Regions from separate parts of the Homo sapiens genome. Here region 2 is linked to region 1. Evidence: promoter capture Hi-C in 16 types of primary human blood cells and fetal thymus (Javierre and others, 2016). All regions are on one chromosome and are shown on one strand. Each heading gives the region's core, a stretch centred on a gene start or on the middle of the fragment in contact. The rest is flanking DNA. Distances are from core to core; before and after follow the strand shown.

Region 1 (6,689 bases), core at 2,873-5,372:
TTGGGAGGCCGAGGCGGGTGGATCACCCGAGGTCAGGAGTTCCAGACCAGCCTGACCAACATGGAGAAAGCCCGTCTCTACCAAAAATACAAAATTAGCCAGGCAGAGTGGTTCATGCCTGTAAATCCCAGCTACTCAGGAGGCTGAGGCAGGAGAATCGTTTGAACCCGAGAGGCGGAGGTTGTGGTGAGCCGAGATCATGCCACTGCACTCCAGCCTGGGTAACAAGAGCAAAACTCCACCTCAAAAAAAAAAAAAAGAAAAAAGAAAAAAATGTCAGAGATATCAAATATAACTAAGGTGGAGATCAAGCACTGCTAAGTGGGGTAGGGAGTGCTAATTGACTACATCATTATCAGTCTATCCTATTCCTTATTAACAAAACTGTGTCCCTTTAGCTGAGTATACAGCTGCTCATAATGAAAATTCCTTTTCCTAGCATCCTATCAGAAGGACACACAAAATGGCCGGTAACATATAGGCAGGGTGTTGTGGAACAGTTGCCAGGAAACACCCTAAAGGGCGAGCCCCGTGCCTTTCTCCATCCTACTACCTGGAACTTGGATATGATTGCAACCTGGACCTGAGAACAATATTCTAGGTTTCAAACAGCAGAAAGCTGAAAGGAATCTGAGCCCCAATTAACTCCACAGAAACACTACACCAGCCCTGGGCTACCAGAACTACCTACCTGCCAACTTTTTACAAAATAAAATCTTAACTCAGATAATTTGGGATCTACCACACAGAAATGAACCTAACCCTAATGCAGGTGTCATACTAAAAATAGATGTACCTGATAGACTGCATACATGATTGTTAAGATCCCCAACCTCCATTCCCCAGGATAAAATTTAGAAAGCTGATAAGCAGACTTTTTCATGGAAGACTAGAAGCTTTCTCTCTAAAGAAACTGATCACCACAAAAGAAATTACACAATGCTGGTAAATGGTATATCTGGAGCTTCAAATAAAATACAAAATAAAAATAAAAAACCAGCAGGGTTCCCATTTGATCACCCTAGGTCACCATTTACCAAGGTCTAATCAATTTTTAGTAAAAGCCACTTTATAAAGGAAGAAGTATCATATAAAAGGGTTTTTTGTTGTTGTTGTTTTGTTTTGTTTTGAGACAGCGTCTCAGTATGTAGTTCAGGCTGGTCTCCAACTCGTGGGCTCTAGTGATCCTTCTGCCTCAGCTGGAATTATGAGTGCATGCTACCACACCCAGAACAAATGAGTTTTTAAGTACTCATTCTCATTATTATAATATGCATAAATGTATATTTTAGGAAATTTTAATAGAACACCTACAAGTTAGTAATAAGAAAACAAGTCTATCACTGGAGCAATATATGGAGCTGCATATCAGGACTTATCAAGCTGGCTTCAATTATTTAGGAATTAGTTTAAACTCTGTTTTTCAAAGTTCATTAGTTTAAAAAGTTCATTAAGTTAAAAAATTAATGTTAAGTTTACACAATTATCCAAACATAATTATTAAAAATAAGATATTCTGCCGGATTTGAATGAACATCACACAACTGATTCACATCTAATTTTACAGCGTATATACCTACAAAACTTTTGTACCTACCTCCATTATAAACTTTAGTAATATCTCCAAGCTTACCCTAACCCCTCTAGAAGCCCAAAAAGTGAAAATACTTAATATTTGTTGAATTAATGTGGCAGGAGGGGATTATACAGAGGTGACTAAAGAAACATGGTTAGTTTCAAAGAGACTATATCTACAACAGGTCCACTACCTAGGAACAGTTCACACATTTAAGTCTGGTAAAAAGAATAAAGGAAGGAACAAATGAATTAAGTTTTAAAGTTGACAGGAGAACCGTATCCAAACCATTATCCACCAACCTCCCATGTCTGTTAGCTTAAAACCCATGCACCAAGTGCTTCTGAAGACCCCAAATCTGAGGGCTGGAACCAAATTTGATATATTCAACAAGATTTTTATCACAGGGCTCATTATACCACAACTATGTTTTCTTAATATTACTAATGGAAAATCCTCACTGAATGCTATTCATGCCTACATAAAAATTACCTTGAAATTGTTTAATTATGTTAATTCTAAAGAATGGCTAAGTATTTCTAGGTTAACTTTAAAAAAAATGCTTATGCTATTAGACTAATGATCCTTGCAGCCCAACAGTTGTAGCTCTAAAATTTGACACCAAGGGGTCTTAATTCCTCTGAGCAATCTATTCAGTACCCCTTCCTTCGGAGAACCAACCCTTCCCCAGTCCGGACTCATCTTGCTTTGATCCATGGGGTAAGGAGAAATTAAACCGGCTGGATGACTCAGATAAGGGCAATTAACTTAGCCCATTTCCCACCATCATAAATGGGTGCAAACAAACCCAGGAGCCTCCCATGGACTTCCACCAGAGCTAAGGAGAAAAGCACTCCCTTCTGTAAGATACTGAGTGTTGCGGACGATTGTTATTACACTACAGCCATCCCTCTCAATACATGAACAAAGCTTTCGAGGGAAGCATCACGGAGGCAAGACGATCTCCAGTGATACCTAAAGCTAAGGAAGGAATATCCCTAGACTTTTCAGTTAGCAGAATAAGTCTTACTTTTTTTTTTTTTTTTTTTTTTTTTTGAGATGGAGTCTCACTCTGTCGCCCAGGCTGGAGTGCAGTGGCGCGATCTCGGCTCACTGCAAGCTCCGTCTCCCAGGTTCACACCATTCTCCTGCCTCAGCCTCCCGAGTAGCTGGGACTACAGGCACCCGCCACCACGCCCGGCTAATTTGTTGTATTTTTAGTAGAGATGGGGTTTCACCGTGCTAGCCAGGATGGTGTCGATCTCCTGACCTCGTGATCCGCCCGCCTCGGCCTCCCAAAGTGCTGGGATTACAGGCGTGAGCCACCGCGCCCGGCAGAATAAGTCTTTTCTTAGCTCAAGCTAGTTTAGCCTGGGTTTCTGCTACTTGGATTGGAATACAATTGTGATTCTCCTGTGAAACAAGTAGAATATACTATACGGAGAAAACGAGATTAACAAGGTATGCAAAAGAAATGTTTAACTATAAAATCGTAAAAAATGTTCTTATAACTATTAAGTATCATGAAAGGAACCCTCATTAAATCAGCATGAGCTAAATAAGCGTTTGCTAAAATAACAAATTTACTCTACTGTGTATATATCTGTTTGTGAACAAACTGCTTTTAAACAACCTACCTTGAACGGTTCAACTATGTAACTAGAGTTTTATTTCAAATAGTTGTAGCTCCTAACTTTCAGAATTCTCCATCTATCATTTGATTATTTTGAACTGAGGAAGACGGTCCATTTCATGTGGACAATGTGATGAGCTGATCAGACATTTGGTCCAGTGTCCCAATTCCCCCACTTCCCCCACTGCCTTCAAGCAACTACTATTATGAAATCAAAATGTGGCCCAAGAAAGACAGTGATGGAAAAATGGGGCGAAAGGGGAAGCTTCAGTTAGAGACCCAAAAAAGTGAAGACTAGTTCTAAGTAAATGTGGCAAAAGAGATCAGTACAGGGCAGACTGCTGCTCCCAGGTATCTGATCCACGGAGCCCTCGCCGACCAAGGGCTAGAGCAGACGTGCAGGCAGGACAAGCGGGCAGTCACAGCGGGCCTGCAGGGCGGGTCCTGCTCACCAGCAAAGAATGCAGACCACACCTACGCGCCTGGTCAGGCCGGGACGGGGCGGCTCCGCCCAGGTTACAGGATTGAAGGAAGGGGGGAGACGGGAAGAGGAGCGGCGAGCGACGGCTGGCAGACAACCTACCCACTCCCAGCCCCGCGCCCACCTCAGGAGCGTCTCGAGCGCGCCCTCGTGCTTGTCCAGCGGACGACCGACTGCGGCGCGGCGCAGCTTGCTGAGCTCCTCCGCCGCGCGGCAGTACTGGGCCTGCTCTTCCCCGCCGCTTGGGTAAGTCTGCTGGATGAACTTCACCAGCGGCTTGGCCAGGTCCACCTCTGAGGTCTTTTTCAGCTGCACCGAGATGAATGTCGCCATGATCAGCGCCTCCGCCGCCGTTCGGGCCAAACAGACCGCGGACAGCTTACGAGGGCCGAGGAGAGAGAGGTACTGGGCTGGCGGACTGGCGGACTGACTGGCTGACAGACTTGCGCTCCGCCTGCGTTCCGGGTCCGGCAACTTCCGGGAGCTCCAGCGCAGGCGCACTGGATGCGGGGTCCTTAAGCTGTCCGCGGTCACGTGAAGGTGTCGCGGCGGCTACGCCCACCTGGACCCAGTTTACCCTGTACTGTGCTGCAAAATATTACTTTCTCCCCATCTGGAATTCTTCCCTTCCTCCTTCCTGCCGCAGTGGTGTACTGAGCACTTTCACGTAAGAGTATTCCTCCACTCGAACAACCCCCCGGAGAAGTACTGGTGTCACTGCCACCTGCGAGAGTTTGCGGCTACCTCCCCAAGAGGCAGTCCCAGGGTTATTGTGACCTATGATGTTTATTCAACTACTGTTGACGGGCTGCTGTGCACAGGGAACCTAGTAGGCAAGACCCCTGCCATCGTGCAGCTTACTGTCAGGTTGACACAGACCTTAAGGTAAACGGAAAAAGTATCAGGAAAAAAACAGGGTGCTTGGGACTTAGGAGATGTTAAGATCGCTTGGAGGACCCTAATTTAAATAAGATAAAGTAGGTTTTCTCCGAGTAGGTTAACTGAAAATGAACCTGTGTCTCTGGTTGCTGTTTTGTAGAAAGAACAAAATTTTAAATAAATTAAAAACGACACCTGTAATTTGAGAAGATGCTTGATATCAGAAGAGGAGAAGAGTGGAGAGGGGTGGAGTGGCAAAGGAGAGCCTCCAAACCAAAAGCCTGCGGCAGAGGCCCTAGGAGGCAAGCACTTAACCATGTTTCAGGACTAGAAACGAAACATGTGACAAGACCTTTAAAAACAAATAGAATGGGATGGAATAAAGTTGGATGAGTAAGCAGGCATCAAATCATTCAGAAACTTGTTGTCCAAGTTGAAGAATTTGTTTAGTATTGTATAATAAATGCAGAGGAAGCTATATACACTTATAATTTACATTTTTTAAAGGCCACGTTGTAGCTCAATCGGATAGTTTGTCTTTTGATGGGATGTAGTATACAGTATCATCATGGTATATTCCAGGCAAAAATATTTAACTTGAATCTGTCAAGCCTTTGCATCTAACACAGTTTATAAAAAATACAACAGATAGATGAACAAACTAAATGATGCCAGAGGAAGTAACTAGACAGATCCAGAAGGTGAAACATTCTGCAGGATAACTGGCCCATCTCTTCAACAATTTGTCATGATAAAAGCAACTGCTTTATGAAAAGAAATTTAAGGGACATAACAGTTTGAATTGGATCCTGGTTTGAACAGACTGTCTATAAAATGCATTTTCAGGACCATTAAAGAAATATGAATGTAGATGGACTGAGTATTGGATAAAATAGAACTGTATTGCCATGGAAAAGATCATTAACTGAAAAGAGCAAGTCACGAAATAGTATGTTACAGCATCTCATTTTGGTTTAAAAATGCACATATATGTATTTATGTACAACTAAAAAAATAGTGGGCTTATACCCTAAGGTGTTAGTATTGGTAATCTTTGGAAGTGGAAATGTGTATTTTTTTCTTTGTGTTTGCCTATCTTTTTCATTGTAACTTTTGCAGCACATAGACTACTTTCATTATAGTAAAAGTTTATTTTACCACAATTTTTTTTTTTTTAGAAAGAGTCTCACTCTGTCACCCAGGCTGGAGTGCAGTGGCACAATCTCAGCCCACTGCAACCTCCACCTCCCAGGTTCAAGCTATTCTCCTGCCTCAGCCTTCTGAGTAGCTGGGACTACAGGTGCACACCACATGCCTGGCTAATTTTTGTATTTTTAATAGAGACTGGATTTCGCGATGTTGGCCCGGCTGGTCTCGAACTCCTGGCCTCAAGTGATCCACCCGCTTTAGCCTCCCAAAGTGCTGGGATTACAGGCGTGAGCCACTGCACCCGGCCTATTTTACCACAATTTATAAAAATTTTTGTTTATTTTAATTAAGCTATTCTATGTTAAAATAAGTAGCCACCCTTGGCTGATGCATAAAGAAAAAATTAGAGGAAGGAAAGAATGGAGGCAAGGAGGCAAATCATGAGACCATTTCAGAAATCAAGACGAAATCAGGAAAGCTAACATTAGCAAGAGTGAACCAAACTGATAATATCTTTGAGTTTAAAACTGAAGAATTTACCAATGAACTGCATAGGAAAGTAAAGAAAAGAGAGTGGTCAAGATAGGTCCTGGTTTTGGGGCCTGAACATCTGAGTGGTTAGTAGAATCATTACCAGTTGATAACCCATGGAAGAGGGTGGGGGATGGGTGGTGTCTTGTAGGTTGGTTGACAGGACTGACCCATTGGGAAGATAACGAAGAAGCAAAGTATATGAAAAGAGGAGAAAGGGTAACCAGAGGAGGGAGGATACAAAGGGAGTGATTAGCCATCAGAAAGATGAGGGACATGACATTTGTTGAGGCAGATGGCGGAGAAAAGAAAGTTAACATAGATGTGGTTAGTTTTGTGGCATTGACCAAAGGAAGATTAAGGTGATACTATCTGATGGCTTGGAATGAAAACCAAACTCCCTGCCACAACATGATGATCTTTCTCTGCAACTTCATATT
Region 2 (6,667 bases), core at 675-3,174, 3.2 Mb before region 1:
AGCCCACTAATACTGTCGGATTAAGTACTACTCACACATAGCACCTGGTTGAGTCCCCTCTCATGGATCACATGCACCACAAACACAAATAAAAGCTTCAGCTTCCTTTTATGAAAGGAAAATAACTTGTTAGAATATGAAGCGAATGGTCTGAATGGTAAGTGATAGTGAGGGTTCTCTTATGGCCTATCTATTGTGACCTTTATCTGCTGCTCCTTCACCAACTATGCTTTATTGTTATCCTATCCCTTGAGCACAGGCTGAAAGACTGGCCATTAGTTATCTAACCTTATTCATCAGGCAGCCTACAAAACACCATTCTTAGTTGGAGTTCCAAATAGATCTTTGTTTGTCCCTGATCTTATAGCTGCTATAGAGAAGGTATATCTTTGTCCACCTGCTACCAAATGTTAATCATTATTAAAGCTTGTGGTGGGTACCTGGAGATCTCTCATCTTTTGTGTGTGTTTGAAAATTCCATATTAAAAAGGTTCGAAAAATGAATAAAGTTTACATCCAGTAGGATGGCTACCACCAACAAAACAGAAAATAAGTGTTGGTGAGGATATGGTGAAACTGGAACACTCATGTTCTCTTAGTGGGAACGTAAAACGGTACAGCCACTATAGAAAACAGTATGGCAGTCACTCATATTAAAAATAGAATTACATATAATCCAGCATTTCAACTTCTGGGTGTATACACAAAAAAGTGAAAGCAAGGACTTAAACATGTTCGCGGCAGCATTATTCACAATAGACAAAAGGTGGAAGCAACCCAAATGTTCATTGACAGATGAAATCGTTAATAAAATTTGGTATGTACATACAATGGAATATTATGTTGTAGCATATATCAAAATGTCTTTCCTTTTAAAAGCTGAGGGCACTATCCTAAGTGAAATAAGTCAGTCACAAAAAGACAAATACTGTTTGATTCCACCTATATAAGGTTATGTGCAGTAGTCAAATTCAGAAAGACAGAAAGTAGAATGGTGGTTGCCAGGGGCTGGGGGAGGGGGTAATGGAGATTTTTTGTTTTTAATTCTTTTTTCAAAATTTACTTTTTACTTTTTTCTTTTGTTAAAAAAAATTTTACTCTTAACACCACTCAATGAGAGATTACTGTTTAATAGATACAGAGTTCCAGTTTTGGGGTTTTTTGTTTGCTTGTTTGTTTGTTTTAGATAGGGCCTTGCTTTGTCACCCAGGGAGAGTACAATGGCACGCTCAAAGCTCACTGCAGCCTTGAACTCCTGGGCTCAAGTGACCCTCCCACCTCAGCTTCCTGAGTAGCTGGGACTACAGATGTGTATCACTATACTTGGCTATTTTTATTTTATTTTATTTTATTTCATTTCATTTATTTATTTATTTATTTTGAGATGGAGTCTCGCTCTGTCGCCCAGGCTGGAGTGCAGTGGCATGATCTCGGCTCACTGCAAGCTCCACCTCACGGGTTCATGCCATTCACCTGCCTCAGCCTCCTGAGTAGCTGGGACTACAGGCGCCCGCCACTACTCCCAGCTAATTTTTTTGTATTTTTAGTAGAGACGGGGTTTCACGTGTTAGCCAGGATGGTCTCAATCTCCTGACCTCGTGATCCGCCCGCCTCAGCCTCCCAAAGTGCTGGGATTACAGGCATGAGCCACCGCGCCCAGCTATTTTATTTTTCTGAGATAGAGTCTCACTCTGTTGCCCAGGCTGTAGTGCAGTGGCACGATCTTGGCTCACTGCAACCTCCGCCTCCCAGGTTCAAACGATTCTCCTGCTGCAGCCTCCAGAGTAACCGGGACTACAGGTGCGCGCCACCATGCCCAGGTAATTTTTTGTATTTTTAGTACAGATGGGGTTTCACCATGTTGGGCAGGCTGGTCTTGAACTCCTGAGCTCAGGCAATCTGCCCACCATGGCCTCCCAAAGTGCTGGGATTACAGGCATGAGCCATCGCGCCTGGTCTATTTTTATTTTGTTTTTATAGAGACGGTGTCTCACTATATTGCCCCAGCTGGTCTCAAACTCCTGGGCTGAAGCGATCCTCCTGCTTCGGCCTCTCAAAGTGCTGAGATTACAGTCGTGAGCCACCGCACCTGGTTCAGAGTTCCAGTTTTGCAAGATAAAAATAATTCTGCAGATGGATGGTGGTGATGGTTGTGCAACAATGTGAATGTGCTTCGTACCACTGCACTGTACAGTTAAAAACAGTTAAGACGGTTCATTTTATGTTATGTGTATTTTATCACAATTTTAAATAAAAGAATCAAGTTTAAGTACTCTATAAAATTAAGCATAAACCTATACCATACCTCAATAATTTCACTCCTAGGTATTTACACAAAAAAATCAAAACATATGTCCACAAAAATGTTCATCGTTCAAGAATGTTCATAGCAGCTTTATTCATTATAATCCAAAACTGGGAACAAACCAAATGTCTGTCAACAGGAAATGGGTAAACAAAATAGGCTCTATCCATACAATAGAGTACTAATCTGGAAGAAACGACTGATACACATAACAATATGGATAAATGTTAAAAACATTATTCTGAGGAAAATAAACCAGACACAAAAGGAAATATACTGGTTTTATGAAGATCAACAGCAGAAGAATCAAAACAATGGTGATAGAATCAGAGCAGTGAGGGTTGGGAGTGGAGATGGGAAGGCAGGGAGGCCAAGGGTTGGGGGCATGGGGGGGTGAACTGCTACTGACAGAAGGAACTTTCTGGGTCGATGTATGGTTTTTTTTGTTGTTTTTTGTTTTTTTGAGACGGAGTCTCTCTCTGTTGCCCAGGCTGGAGTGCAGTGGTGCTATCTCGGCTCAATGCAACCTCTGCCTCCCGGGTTCAAGCGATTTTCCTGCCTCAACCTCCTGAGTAGCTGGGACAACAGGCATGTGCCACCATGCCTGGCTAATTTTTTGTATTTTTAGTGGACAGCCAGGATGGTCTCGATCTCCTGACCTCATGATCCACCTGCCTTGGCCTCCCAAAGTGCTAGGATTACGGGCATGAGCCACTGCGCCCGGCTGATGTAAGTATTTATATCTTGACTGAGGTGTTGGTTCCACAGGTATACATATTTGCCAAAACTCATCAAACTGTATACTTAAGGTCTGTGAACTTACTATATGTTCTTTATACCTCAATATAATTAGTATTTAAAAAAAGAGAAAGTCCTCTCCCTGCTCTCCCCTCTTCCCCTGGGGTCAATGAAGCAAGTATGAAAAAACTAATGTGGTTTTGATATTATTCTGTGTTCTGTGATGCATATCATTTATAAAACAACAGAAGTTCATTTCTTGTGAACAGTTTGCTTATAATAAACCAAGGGCAACAGGTCACTGCTGACTGGCCTAGCTCCCTTAGCCAGCATCACAGATGACTAAGAGGGAAGTGAGAGATAGCAAGTGTAAGCTTCGTGCAGCATGACAGTATCAAACAGGAGCAAGAGACAGTTCAGGAAGGTGGGGGCATAGCTCATGAGGAAGGTTGCTTGGTGAGCGGCAGGCCTCTGCATTATCTTTGGTATCAGTGAAGAGCTGGTTTCCTTGGCAACAGGGGCCTACTTAATGAATGGTGCCTGCCAGGCAGCAGGCATGGACATGTCCATAGCAAGTGTACAATAGTGAAAGAAGATCTCTTCACCAAATATTCCCTTTTAGTCTACATACTGAGATCTGTTGATGGTTTAAGAACAATCAGAGAATGCTGAAAGACATAATAAAAAGCTTCAGTGCCATTACCCACTTCTCTTCTCCCCCATTCCTAGTAACAACCACTTGTAACCTTTTATCCTTCTCCTCCTCCCCCTCCTTCTCCACTCCTCCCACTCCTTCTCTCCTCCTCCTCCACCCCCCCCCCCCCGCCCACGCTCCCTCCCTCCCTCTCTTCCTTCCTTCCTTCTTCATTTTTTTAAATTTTTTTTGAGATGGTCTCACTCTGTTGGCTCACTGTAGCTTCCACCTTCTGGGCTCAACTGATTCTCCTGCCTCAGCCTCTGAAGTAGCTGGGAATACAGGCATACACCACCACACCCAGCTAATTTTTCTGTTTTTTTGTAGCGATGAGGTCTCACTACGTTGCTTAGGCTGGTCTCAAACTCCGGGACTCAAATGATCTGCCTGCCTCTGCCTCCCAAAGTGCTGGGATTACAGGCCTGAGCCACCGTGCCCAGCCTCCTTTTCTTTCATTAGTTATTTTGGTTTCATATATATTTCTGTATATTGCTAATTCTTAATTTATCAACTGTAGGCATTGTCTACTTATTGCTTATGATTAATAAGGATTTAACTAATTAATACCACCCCATTTCTCCTTTTCTTCTTTTTACCATGACTTTTGTTGTATCATTGGTTTTCTTTCCATTGGTTACTTTTATACATTTAGATTCTGTTCTTAAACTATTTGTTTTTAATTCTGTCAATTTTCACTAACGTCTCTTGACTTTTTTCCCCTACCCTTGCCTCCATCTCTTTTCCTACTTCTACCTTCTGGTTTCTGTGAGCTTCACTTTGATATTTACATTGTTGAGGTTGAAAATTTACATTCTGTTCAGAAACCTGAACCCCCATCCTTTGTCTGTAGGTTGATGACACAAATTTAAAATTACTAAAAATATTAAATTGTTATGACATTATGTTTTCTTGTATAATTATGTCATCACCCTAGACCTCTCAAAGGACAATATTCCTAGAAAATTCTATGATGGGCCAGGCGCGGTGGCTCACGCCTATAATCCCAGCACTTTGGGAGGCTGAGGTTGGCAGATCACTTGAGTTCGGGAGTTCAAGACCAGCCTGACAAACAGGGTGAAATCCTGTCTCTACTAAAAAATACAAAAATTAGCCAGGTGTTGTGGCGGGCACCTGTAATCCCAGCTGCTTGGGACGCTGAGGCATGAGAATCACTTGACCCCGGGAAGCAGAGGTTGCAGTGAACTGAGATCACCACTGCACTCCAGCCTGGGTGACAGAGTGAGACCCTGTCTCAAAAAAAAAAAAAAAAAAAAAAGAAAAAGAAAATTGCATGGTGGATTCTCTTTTCTTAAAGAACCACAGTTGCCCAAATTCATACCACATTTGTTTATTTCAAGTTTGGATCATAACTTTCCTGTCTTAGAATTTTTATAATTTTTCCCTCATCAGGAGAAGCAAAAGCCTTCTTCATGAAAGCACTGATATCTATTAGTTCCTTACTCTAAAATTGTTCAGGGTCTATTCTAGAAGTCTTAAGAATATCTTTGTGTTGTATGAAAGGGGAGAAGGTTAGTACTCCCCTTGACAAGGATGGAAGAGGCCCTCAGGCCTGACAACACACATACGGTTAAGGCATTGCCACCTAGTTCGTGGCATCTAACTATCGTTTTTTCACACACTGGGGCCTGTTATGGGGTAGGGGAGGGGGGAGGGATAGCATTAGGAGACATACCTAATGTAAATGAGGAGTTAATGGGTGCAGCACACCAACATGGCACATGTATGCATATGTAACAAACCTGCACGTTGTGTACATGTACCCTAGAACTTAAAGTATAATAAAAGATATATATATATTTAAAAAAAAAGAATATCTTTTTGGAGCACATGGACCTCCTGTTTTAATTTGAATAGATTTCTTTCAAACCCCACTGCAAGCAGTCATCCTGGGGTTTCTTTTTATTAGATTAACAGGGTTAGTACTATCATCTTCTGTTTTCTACATACTCCTCACACTTGGTTTCCTGGCCAACATATTCAATTGTCTCCTTCAGATAGCATAAATAGTAGATAAACCCTGAATCCTTACAGGTGTAAGAATGGCTTTAGTTTGTCCTCAGTCTTGATAGCTAGCTTGTCTAAGTTTGGATTTCTAGGCAGAATTATTTTCCCACCCAACTCTGAAGGTGTGCTCCATTAATTAATTAAGGAACATTTAAGATTGTGAAATAGAACACATATATACAAAAAACACAAATGTGTATCTTAATGAATTGTTATACAGTAAATATTTATATAACCACCAGGCCATAAAACAAAATTTTGTCAAAATCTTAGAAGTCTACATCAACATTTTCCACCTTTGGCCCACTGGTCTCTTTCCAATTCCAATGTTCCTCTTTCCTCTTAGAAATATCCACAATTACGAGACTCTGTCTCAAAAAAAAAGAGGCCAGCCACAGTGGCTCATGCCTGTAATCCCAGCACTTTGGGAGGCCGAGGTGGGCGGATCACGAGGTCAGGAGATCGAGACCATCCTGGCCAACATGGTGAAACCCTGTCTCTACTAAAATACAAAAAATTAGCTGGGCGTGGTGGTGCACACCTGTAATCCCAGCTACTAGGGAGGCTGAGGCAGGGTAATCACTCGAACCTGGAGGCGGAGATTGCAGTGAGCTGAGATCATGCCACTGCACTCCAGCCTGGCGACAGAATGAGACTCTGTTTCAAAAAAAAAAAAAAAATCTACAATTCTGAATTTTATGGAAATAACTTTCTTGCTTTATAAAAATAATGTTATCAAATAAATATGCTTCTCTACACATATAATTTAGTTTGCTTATTTTTGAGCTTCACGTAAATGGAATAATACAGCATATATTATTTTGAGTCTGGCTTTATTTGCTTAGCATTATGTTTTGAAATTCATCCATGTTGTTGGATGTACCTACAGTTCATTTCATTTCCAT

Evidence for each region. Contacts are between HindIII fragments. The CHiCAGO score rates a contact against its expected background, and 5 or more counts as called.
Region 2: a fragment that was not itself captured here is called in contact with the fragment with the promoter of PDCD6IP in region 1 in 2 of 17 cell types (M0 macrophages and M2 macrophages); the score reaches 11.0 in M0 macrophages.

The regions. Positions count from the first base shown.
Region 1 is chr3:33,796,063-33,802,751 of GRCh38, reverse strand. PDCD6IP (programmed cell death 6 interacting protein) reads right to left here and starts at 4,122. Exons shown (of 18, transcript NM_013374.6): 1 at 3,815-4,122. The coding sequence starts at 4,023. PDCD6IP-DT (PDCD6IP divergent transcript) reads left to right here and starts at 4,233. Exons shown (of 2, transcript NR_183731.1): 1 at 4,233-4,357; 2 at 4,730-6,689. RefSeq lists enhancers at 3,426-3,959, 3,906-4,255. The HindIII fragment of the contact is 5,708 bases long and covers 3,477-6,689 here.
Region 2 is chr3:36,966,894-36,973,560 of GRCh38, reverse strand. It overlaps the pseudogene RNU6ATAC4P. Among named protein-coding and RNA genes, the nearest start is that of EPM2AIP1, 23 kb to the left of the region's middle. RefSeq lists enhancers at 3,613-3,672, 3,763-3,812. The HindIII fragment of the contact is 2,991 bases long and covers 429-3,419 here.